Linked DNA regions of Homo sapiens: all the other regions are linked to region 3. Evidence: promoter capture Hi-C in 16 types of primary human blood cells and fetal thymus (Javierre and others, 2016). All regions are on one chromosome and are shown on one strand. Each heading gives the region's core, a stretch centred on a gene start or on the middle of the fragment in contact. The rest is flanking DNA. Distances are from core to core; before and after follow the strand shown. Region 1 holds the start of BTN3A2 (butyrophilin subfamily 3 member A2). Region 2 holds the start of TRX-CAT1-4 (tRNA-iMet (anticodon CAT) 1-4). Region 3 holds the start of H4C2 (H4 clustered histone 2).

Region 1 (3,119 bases), core at 50-2,549, 340 kb after region 3:
TAAATTTAGATGGTGACAGTCCAGGGCTGATCTGGCACCTCAGATATGTCATTCATGCCCCAGCCTGCTTCTGACTTCATTCTCTGCTGTCCCAGTGTGTGGCTTCCAACCTCAAGGCTGCCTCATGGTCCCAGGGTGGGCTACTGCACCTCCGGGTCCAAAGTCCATGTTCTAGGCAAGAGGAAGAAGGAAGAAGGGAGAGTGTACCCTCACACTCCCAGCTATTTTGGCCTCCCTTTGAAGGATTTCTGGGAGAAGTACAAGCCCACAACTTTCACCTACAAACCGCTGGCTCCAACTTAGTCCCTTGGCCTGCCCTATCTTCAAGGGGGAAGAGCAGGATGCAGTACCCCAGAAAATTAGGCCTTGTCACTAAGAAGAAGGGGGCATGCACGCTGCAGAAGCAACCAGCCATCTCAAGCAGATACCACACAGCCTAAATTCAAACTGTTGCAATATAATCAAATCCCATCAGCTCCAGTCACATATTAGCTCTAGGAGATTTCTGGCTTGCAGCCCAAAAAAGTGTGTTTTGAGGTCGTAAGCCACAGGGAGAACAAGATTGTCCCATAAACTCCTTACAGAGATGGTGTACAGGAAACGAGCCTTACAGAGACCACAGCCTATGGAGTGTCTAGCTTCAGAGAATATGTACTCCACTGGCAGCGTGAGAAACAAATACCCAAGAAAATACAATATAGCACAAACCAGGAGCTGAGGGTGAATGAAGATGCTCAGAAAGATCTGCAGTAAGAATTTCCTGGGAAAGGTAAAACAATGTCAAGCAGCACTGCCTCTGGAAATCAGAAAAATTATATTATTTGATACCATATCCTAAGCCTAAATGCCAGAAGTTCTTAAAGAGGTGCAGTTTGTCTCATTTTCTTTCCATTCATACCTTTATTAGGCTCTGTAAAAAAGATCCTCCTCTTCTACGTACCTATCTACATGCAAGCAAACTGCCACAGAAGCATCTTAATTAGTGCACATCTTCCTCTCTTTGCACATTAAATTTTTTTACTTTCCTACTCCATTCTGCTAATATTTCTATTACCATGTAAAAGACACGAGACAGGTGAATATAAAGAAATACTTATATACATCCACGCACAAGAATGATTCAAATAGATAAACACAGAAACACAAACACTAAGGGAGGTAGGGCTGGAGTTTTTCCTCAACGTGTACAATTCAATGTACTTTCAGTTTTCATTTCAACGTTCCTCAGTGGTTTCTGCCCAGCAACTGATGAGAAACATCACCTCTGAGCCAATCAAAAAACTAATTCTTCCAAAGAGCGACTCTTACTGTTTCTCATGGTGAGAAGACAATATTTGCTTTCTCTTTTTCCTTTCTTCCGGATGAGAGGCTAAGCCATAATAGAAAGAATGGAGAATTATTGATTGACCGTCTTTATTCTGTGGGCTCTGATTCTCCAATGGGAATACCAAGGGGTAAGTGCAGGAAATTGATTAGAGCCTGGGCTACAACGCATGGGAGGAGCGGGGCTGAATCGCTGAGAGTGGTGAGTGGGCATGCAGGGAGAGTACTCTCCCAGAGAAAGGGGTGCAGTGCCTGTGTGTGTGTGTGTGTGTGTGTGTGTGTGTGTGTGTGTGTGTACATGTGTACATGTGCACACTCGCACATGCACATATGGGCACGTGGGAAGACGGGAGAAGTACTGCAAAGTATAAGGAACTGCAGAGGTTGGGATTTAGTGGAAGGAAAGGGAGACAACATGAATGAAGAAATATTCCAACTGCATGTTCTTAACGTATTGTGGTCAGAAAAGGGCAAACAAACAAACAAACAAAAAACCCTTAAAATCTGTTCTGGCCAACTCAAGGCATCTATTCTGAGAAATTCTGAAGAAGAAGAAGAAAAAAGAGATGTGCCTCATAGATTTATATGTAAATGTGTTTATTACAGAAGTATTTATAATATAGTAAAATCTGAACCAACATACATATTCAACAGGTGGGGAATAGACAAACAATGCATGGTTCAGTCATAAAACATGTTCCATGTAACCATTAGGAATCATAATTTTAATTAAGTGAAATTCTTTATAATTTTAATAACACTGGATCCTTATATTAAACCATTTTTGGTATCTTTTAGGGATAGTACTTGGTTTTCTTTCCATTCATCATTTCCCCAAAACCTAAAGCATGATTTCCCATGGTTACAAGCTACTACATTGTATGAATATATAATTATTGGGAGTCTCTGTGAGCCTACTCTGACTCAGAAAGCCGCTCCTAAAGAAGAAAAAAGAACAAACAAACAAATAAAAAACCCGAATTATTTTTAAAACTCTTTATTTTGGATTTTTCAGTTTCTACATTTTGTTACTGTAGATTTTACTAGATTGAACAGCCTTATCCATAAATATTTGCATCAATCTCTAAATTTTTTTCTTCAACACTAACTTTTATAGTTGGAATTTTGGGGGCAAATAATACAACATTTTAAAGGCACTTGCCATGTGTACATGGCCAAATGCTTCCAGAAACATTTCCACTTCCATTAGCAAAGTATATAACTACAGAGTATTTAAGGTTTTATTCCTTTATATTTTTTTCTTTGGCAAAATTGTCTATAGTAGAAAGAATGAATAATAAATAACCTAAAAAATAAAAGTTCTCCCTCTGAGGACAGCAGAGAAATTTTTAGCTTAGCTTAATAATACCTCCTTCTCCTTAGGAGAATAAAGAGCAGTTTCGAGGAGCAGAAGATGTGGTGAAATATAATGTTTAGTCTGATGGTGGATGCAAGATCCAGGCAGGGGTGGAGCATGACCAGCTGCACAGACCTCTGTTCCCTTGCTTCCTCTACATCTCTCCCCACCTCCATCTGCAGACCTTGTTCTCAGAGGCCATTCCCAGACCCACAGCAGCTGGTATGATGGCTGCAGGCCTCATGCTCCTTTGTTTTGGGAGAAACTGTTGAGGAGTTAGTATTTACTGAGCAGCTAATATGTTCCAGTCACTATTATTCCTCATAATAATTAGTTATTAACTAATACATGAAAATTTTAAACTTAAAGCATTCCAATAATTTTAAAAGTAAAGGAAGCAAAAGGCCAAAGCGTCCTTTCACTCACTTAACCTCCAATT
Region 2 (3,555 bases), core at 420-2,919, 300 kb after region 3:
TAATAGAGAGGAGGTTTCGCCATGTTGGCCAGGCTGGTCTGGAACTCCTGATCTCAAGTGATCAGCCCGCCTCGCCCTCCCAAAGTGCTAGATTACAGGCGTGAGCCACCACGTCCGTTTGGGAAAACCTTGTGTCATTCTGTGAGAGTTACGATTGAGAATTCACAAACAGAAAATTTCTAGATAGCAAACAATTTTGGTTTCTTTTCTATCCTTTTCGCATACTCATAATTTCAAGAATCACTTGAAACAAAAATCAAGTCTCTTCTCTGCTCCCTGTCCTCTAGCAATTTTTAAAGTTATTGAAACATATTCCTGATTTGCATTATAGAAAACACCCAAAGAACATTCTCAGCTTACCACATATGCGCCTGAACTTGAAGTTTGTTGATTCCTTCTAAGTTTTGTTGGCAGGACGTGAACTCAGCTATTAAATTCCTGGTAAAGCGAGAGGTACAATATGTGACATATAATAACATGTACGACGTTTAAGAAAACTTTTGGCACCTATAGTCGTGGCTGAGTGGTTAAGCCTACTTTTTAAACATTTAAATAGCTTATTTTAAAATTATTTACCTACATATCTCTAAATAATATGTTTGTATGGACCTTCTGTTGACTTTATATAAGAGGAGTAACTGGTTCACTTTCTTCTTCACACCCCAGGACCCCCGACACACACATGCTCCCTTTCTAAGTCTTCTCATATGGTTATAGCACAATACATGATACTTTAATATTTGTAGCTTAAAATATGACAACTTTATAAACATAATTCAACAAGTGGGCAAAGAAATACATTGTTAAGTTTTCCTTTCCTTGCAATTTTTATTTTTCCCCGGCATTAGTACATAACTGTCTTTTCTTGTTGTTTTACTGCTTAAGCTTCTAGACACTTTTCATTAATTCAACCCCAAGCATTTCGTCAGTTGTCTAAACATTTCTCCAAAAGTTCAAAAGCTTTGCACAGTCTGTAGATTTCATCCTACTTTAAACATGTCTCCTTATGCATCTGTATTAGTTTGAGTAAACAGAAAAATAAGAACAGGAAAAAAAGTGTCACCTACAGCCTGCTCAAATCTGGACATGTTACTATATGTCACATATGGTACCTCTCATTTTACTAGGGATTTAATAATACTAGGTGAGTTCATGTCCTACTAATAAAACTCGGAAGGAATAGCTGAAATAACTTTTGAAGTTTGCTGTAAATATTAGTGTTTGTAATTATGCAGAACGGCGGTTTAGAGTTTTATCTTTGCTCTACCATTTACTAGCTGCATGACTTTGGGCAAGTTAGTTAACCTCTGCAAACCCCAACTTGCAGACAAACCCCAATTTGTCTCATTTGTAAAGTAAGAGTAATAGCAAGTATTTACTTCGTAGAATTGCGAGGAATAAATGATTCAGAACTTGGAATAGTGCATGGTATCTATTAACTGTTCAAACAATCAAAGCTAAAACTACTGCTTTTGTTATTTTTAATCTAATTAGGATAGTAATGTATTGCAACCAGAGATATAGATCTCTGAGAGAGGTGCAAATCAAAATAAGTTCCCTTACGGTGTCCATGACAATTATACCAATTTCCTCCTCCTATGAGGTAGATCTATTTTTGGAAGGGGGAAAAACAAATCCACAAAACGCTCCCTAGCAGAGGATGGTTTCGATCCATCGACCTCTGGGTTATGGGCCCAGCACGCTTCCGCTGCGCCACTCTGCTACGCGAGTCACAGGTCCCAGAGTTAATAGTCACCTTTTTTCTAGCGTGTCAAGTTTCCAAATCTCAAAATTATGTCTTCTCTCTTTTTTTTTTTTCCAGAGCAGTAATCTGTTCGTAATATGGCCATAGGCTTAGACTACTACTAAGAAAAGAGTTAATAAGAAATAGGAAAAAGGTTATTTTAGGTACACTTCTCCGATGTAATGTTTGTCACTGTGTATTGTGTGAATGTGTACAGTAAATACATAAGAGAAAATCTGCTAATATTTCAAATGTCATGTTTTAAAGTCATTGTAAGTTATAAAAATTTAAACACTTCTGAAGAAATAAACGTACTTTTCCTTTTTTCCATGTTGTAATTTGCTAATTCATAATCTGTAGGGGGTCTTGAGCCACATGTGGGGAAAAAAACGGCACATTCATGCACATTTTCAGATAATACTATAAGGGGGTTCACGGAATAGCTAGCCTTCTCTGATGTAATGGTTCATTCCCTGTATGAATTTGAGAAAGTAACTGCATTCAGGTTTTCTGCCTCTGGAAATCAAGTGACTTCTTCCGTGATTTGCAGGGAGGGTTGAGGAAATCGCAGAGATCCAGGGAAGTTCAATGGAATCGCTTTAGCCTGGAACAGCTGATCCAAATATGAAGCAGGTAAGCTTAGGTCATCCACTCAAACCAGACTACGTCTCTGCGAAGATCTGCTAAGCTTCTGAAGGTTGGAGAGACAGACATGGATGAAAAGATAAGGCCGCGGGCGTGGGAGTGAGTATGGAGAGAAGTCCAGGAGGGTTTAACAATAGGGATGAGTTGCTGAAGAGTATAATTCAGAATGTTTGCAATAAAAGAGTGAAAACGTCTCTATAAACCCGGAAATAAGCCCCAAAATACCATAACATATTCCTGTATATATCTTCCTACTAAAAAAAGAGAAGGGGGTAGTTTTGAGGAGGCTAAAGTAACTGAGTATACAAGTGCCTAAGAGAAGCAGGAAAAGCAACTTTTTTCCCCCTGTAATATGTAATGTACTCCCCGCCATACAGTTATCTGAGCCAGCGAGCTAAAAACTGTTGACCCCGACGTGATTTGAACACGCAACCTTCTGATCTGGAGTCAGACGCGCTACCGTTGCGCCACGAGGTCTCCGGGACACCTACGTTTTATTTACCTGTCAATCTGATTCATGAAAATAATTTCGGTACTGGTGAAGACCAGGCAGCTATTAACAGATACAAAATAGTGCCTAGCTGCTTCCCTCTCGGTAAAATTGCTGTCCGCCCAATCACTGATTTTCTCTGCCTCTGAATTGCTTCATTTTCACCTGTTCTTGTTTATATTTCATTCCGTTTCTTACCTAGTTTTCCCTGTATATTCCAAATATAGACGTCTTGGGAGTTTCGTTGTTTTTATCTTTATAGAAATACATTCTGTTGAAGGTCAGTCGCTTTGGAATGGGGTTGTAGAGAGGAGGTAGCGAAGAGGGAATAATGAGGATCCTTCCTCTCCCAACTCCTCATTAAGGAACTCTGATCAAGGTGAGTTTTAAATTCGTTTCCAAAGTTCACTGCAGGTCACAACCAGTGTTTCCGTTAACGAATTCACGCGGGGGCTGGCAGGTTGTTTGTGCTGCATCTTTTCTGAGAGATAACGGCGCCTCCCTGTAGCCTCCGTTCTCAGCTGATGAGAGAGTTGATTTCACACCCCGATAATTCTTCAAAATCAGATCGCTGGACCTGAAACTGACCCTAAAAAGAACAAGAAATCCTGTCATCAGGAGTAAGTGGGTTATTCTGGCACTGTGCTTTGTTTGGCTGGTTAAAGAACCTGCCTTG
Region 3 (3,477 bases), core at 845-3,344:
CCCGCAACCATGCCCAGCTAATTTTTTTTTTTTTTTTAGTAGAGACGGGGTTTCACAATATTGGCCAGGCTGGTCTCGAACCCCTGACCCCAGGTGATCCACCAGGCTCAGCTTTCCAAAGTGCCGGGATTACAGGCGTGAGCCACCTTGCCGGGCCTATATTTCTTAAGCTCTATGTTTCGTTCTGAAGCTTGAAGTGGGTGGAAGCAAACTGATAGAATTTGGAGAGGTGGTTAGGCATCCCGGGAATGAGAAACAGCCCGAAGCTGCCACTATCACAGGCTTTGGCATTGCTAGAAGTTAACGTGGCACTTACAGCTAGGCCGTGGTGTTCTGTTGAACAAACTATTTGACAGAGCACAGAGCATGTAAGTGGTGAGGCCAGTTGAGTTAGCCAAGAAAAGAGGAGTCCAAGAACTGAGCCAGAGTACACCAGAGTATGTAGTGGAGTACAGCTTTCTCATTCTTTAGTAGGGCTGTGTAGAGAAATACTCTATTTTATGGATGTATAGATCACTCTAGTCCTTTCTGATGAAAACTTTACAGTTGCCACTCATTTACTATTACAAACAATGCTGCACTACATTATGTTTCAGTTTTTAGCCATCTCATCTGGTCTCAGCATTTATTTATCTGCTGATGACTCACACATTTTTATCTCCAGCTCAGACCTCTCACCCGAACTCACTTATTCAACTGCCTATTCACTATATCCTCCTGTCAGGAGAAGCTTGTTAGCAAAGTAACCAGAAAACAAAGTTGATTTTTTTTGCTGAAGTAGCCATCAATATATTTGTTACTAAATCAAAGATGCTGAATATTTGGCTGACTTCTAAAAATCTGGTCACCTAACTTTGACACTTCCTAGGTCGTACAGTTTGAAACTTTCACAATTAAATCAGTTTTGGAATTTACAATTTAAGGCAGGAATAGAAGACTATTGGGTTGACAGGTACAGTGAAGATGCAAGTCATCTGAGAATCTTACATCAGAGGGGGCTTCCATCTTATAGCTGCTGCCACGGACCTCGGAGTCAGAAGAAATTTGAGTCCTTATTTATAAAACAGACTCCCTTAGTCTACTAAGTGGGAATTTACGAACTGCGTAGGCAGCCTGCTTAGGGGAGCCTCCAGCCTGAGGACTGAAAATAGCAAAGCAGCTTTAACCGCCAGTCCTACTCCAGAGAAGGGGGAGGTGACGTCACTCAGCAGGACGCCAAGCTCAACTAGAAATGGAAGTAAAGGCTTCTGGCGCTACCGGCAGGGGGCGGTTAAGGACGGCAGGTGTTACCAGGGAAGCTAAAAGTACAGCTTTTGCTGACGTTAAGTCAGATACGCCTGGGAAAACAGACCTGACACCCATTTTAATCCACCTACTCAGTTCCAGGCAGCTAGCATCTTAGGCTCTCGTACAAATAACGCACAACTCGTTTTTAAAACTAAAAAGCTGAGCTACTCATTTATCGGACTCGCGCTGCACGTTAAGTTGCTTGACATGTCAAAACTATAGCATTGAAGTTTATAGCTCACTTATCTCGGAGACCTCGTTTACTTAGCTGATTTCTGCTTTAGCAGCCACTCAGACCAAACAACCTGGTCTCTCCCAACTGGTTTATAATAGTTCTACATACTAGGCAGAATAGCCGAGTAAAGCCATTGAGATGTTACCATCCGAAAGAATACAATCACAGCTCTTTCTGAGAGGGAGTGGGCGGCCCTGAAAAGGGCCATTGGAAGAAAACTGACGAAAAGATTAACCGCCGAAGCCGTACAGAGTGCGTCCTTGACGCTTGAGCGCGTAAACCACATCCATGGCAGTGACAGTCTTGCGCTTGGCGTGCTCCGTGTAGGTCACGGCGTCCCGGATCACGTTCTCCAGAAACACCTTGAGAACGCCACGAGTCTCCTCATAAATCAAACCGGAAATTCGCTTAACCCCACCACGCCTAGCAAGGCGCCGAATGGCCGGTTTGGTGATGCCTTGGATGTTATCCCGCAGCACTTTTCGGTGACGCTTGGCACCTCCCTTACCCAAACCTTTACCGCCTTTGCCGCGACCAGACATGTCTAACCAGCTGACAACAAAAACCAGGTACGCGAAAAGAAAGCAAGCCACGAGCATTTATACACGAACATCGGACCTTATTGAGAACTGAAAGCGGGAGCGAGGATAAGGAGGCGTTGCTGCCTCACTTTTTGCTCCGCCCCTCGAGGGGCAGTGACCTAAGGACTGCGAGGGAGAACACAATAGTTTCACTTTTTAATCCCTTTAGTTTTTCCCTCCCGTTTACGACACTACTATTTGAATCTGAATTTATACCCTCGACTGAGAATTTTAATAAGGGCTTATATTAAGGGCTTTCACTAATATGCCGGAGTGGTAAACTTTTTAAGTCTTTCAAGTGCTTGAAGACATATTGACTATTCAAAGGTACTTAAAAGAGCAGGCGTGAAAAGATCACTCTGGCCTTATGTTTTCTTGAAAGCTGACCTGTTTCTTAGAAGCAGTAGGTGAAATTCTCATATGAAAGATGTTCTCACTGTAGTTTAAAAAAAGCAACATTCTTCTCAAGGATAGGAGGCTGAGGCCAAGAGAATTCTGTACAAACCTTGCACTAGCCCTTGCTGGGCGCTTCTCTACACAGTTATATATTCTAGCCTAAATCCCTTTGCTTTAGCGCATTTTTACATTTTACTAATTGTCCAATTCATTATATAAGTAGCTAACTGCTTTTTTTGGGCTTTCATTACCTTATGAGAGCACCTGTGTCACGTAAAACCTGTGTTAAATAAATGCATATACCTTTCTCCTGTTAATCCATTTTACATTAATTTAATTTGCTGGTCCAGCCAGAGCCCTAAGAGGATGGGAGTGGAGTTTTGCTATCCTTCACACTGTACTGTCTCATTCAGAAGAGGGTGATAGCTCATTGCAACCGTGCCTTCATCTGTAAATCGGGTTATGATGATACTCAGGGGACTTTTAATTAGCTAATGTGAACGAGGCATGAGAAGAGACTGTGGAAAAGAAATAAATATTACATAATATGGTTTAATTTTAGATGTTACTACTTAAAAAAATCTGCTCAGAGTTGGGATATTGTCCTGAACTCTCATTTTCGTGTTTTTACTCCCAACACTATATTGCTAGCAGCAACTATGTATGTATTAGTAAGGATTGTTTTTTTAAAATCACAGCCTGTAATAACGTACAAGGTGTTGACAGATTCCGTTTAGCTTTTCATATGTGACATGTTAAAATTGTCCGAAAATATTCCTTTGTTCTCTTTTCCAAGGTGCAATACAATAGCAGCATTCGTGCTTTCCTATAGCCAAGTCTGGAGTGTAGTTCAACTCTCCATACACGCTTCTCACTGTTGTTTTAAATTTCCTGAAAACATTCTTAAATCACTTCTATTGGAAAAACTGCAAGGGCTACTGCTAAATTTTTAAGTCTGAAAAATGCACCCCAAACTTG

The links. The method cuts DNA at HindIII sites, captures the fragments that hold promoters and counts their contacts. A CHiCAGO score of 5 or more calls a contact.
Region 1: the fragment with the promoter of BTN3A2 here is called in contact with the fragment with the promoter of H4C2 in region 3 in 1 of 17 cell types (neutrophils); the score reaches 9.6 in neutrophils.
Region 2: a fragment that was not itself captured here is called in contact with the fragment with the promoter of H4C2 in region 3 in 1 of 17 cell types (neutrophils); the score reaches 5.9 in neutrophils.

The regions. Positions count from the first base shown.
Region 1 is chr6:26,363,899-26,367,017 of GRCh38, forward strand. It overlaps BTN3A2 (butyrophilin subfamily 3 member A2), which reads left to right and starts at 1,300. Exons shown (of 11, transcript NM_007047.5): 1 at 1,300-1,454. RefSeq lists an enhancer at 1,258-1,307. The HindIII fragment of the contact is 4,055 bases long and covers 1-3,119 here.
Region 2 is chr6:26,328,650-26,332,204 of GRCh38, forward strand. TRX-CAT1-4 (tRNA-iMet (anticodon CAT) 1-4) reads right to left here and starts at 1,723; the gene lies at 1,652-1,723. It overlaps TRW-CCA3-2 (tRNA-Trp (anticodon CCA) 3-2), which reads right to left and starts at 2,866; the gene lies at 2,795-2,866. It overlaps LOC101928743 (a long non-coding RNA gene), which reads right to left and starts at 3,309. Exons shown (of 3, transcript XR_241992.5): 1 at 3,078-3,309; 2 at 361-438. LOC124901288 (a long non-coding RNA gene) reads left to right here and starts at 3,169. Exons shown (of 2, transcript XR_007059522.1): 1 at 3,169-3,258. RefSeq lists a silencer at 3,223-3,404. The HindIII fragment of the contact is 1,422 bases long and covers 959-2,380 here.
Region 3 is chr6:26,025,189-26,028,665 of GRCh38, forward strand. It overlaps H4C2 (H4 clustered histone 2), which reads right to left and starts at 2,095. Exons shown (of 1, transcript NM_003544.3): 1 at 1,708-2,095. The coding sequence starts at 2,064. The coding sequence ends at 1,753. RefSeq lists enhancers at 1,708-1,757, 1,788-1,847, 1,868-2,187, 2,164-2,749, 2,750-3,334 and 2 more. The HindIII fragment of the contact is 5,368 bases long and covers 729-3,477 here.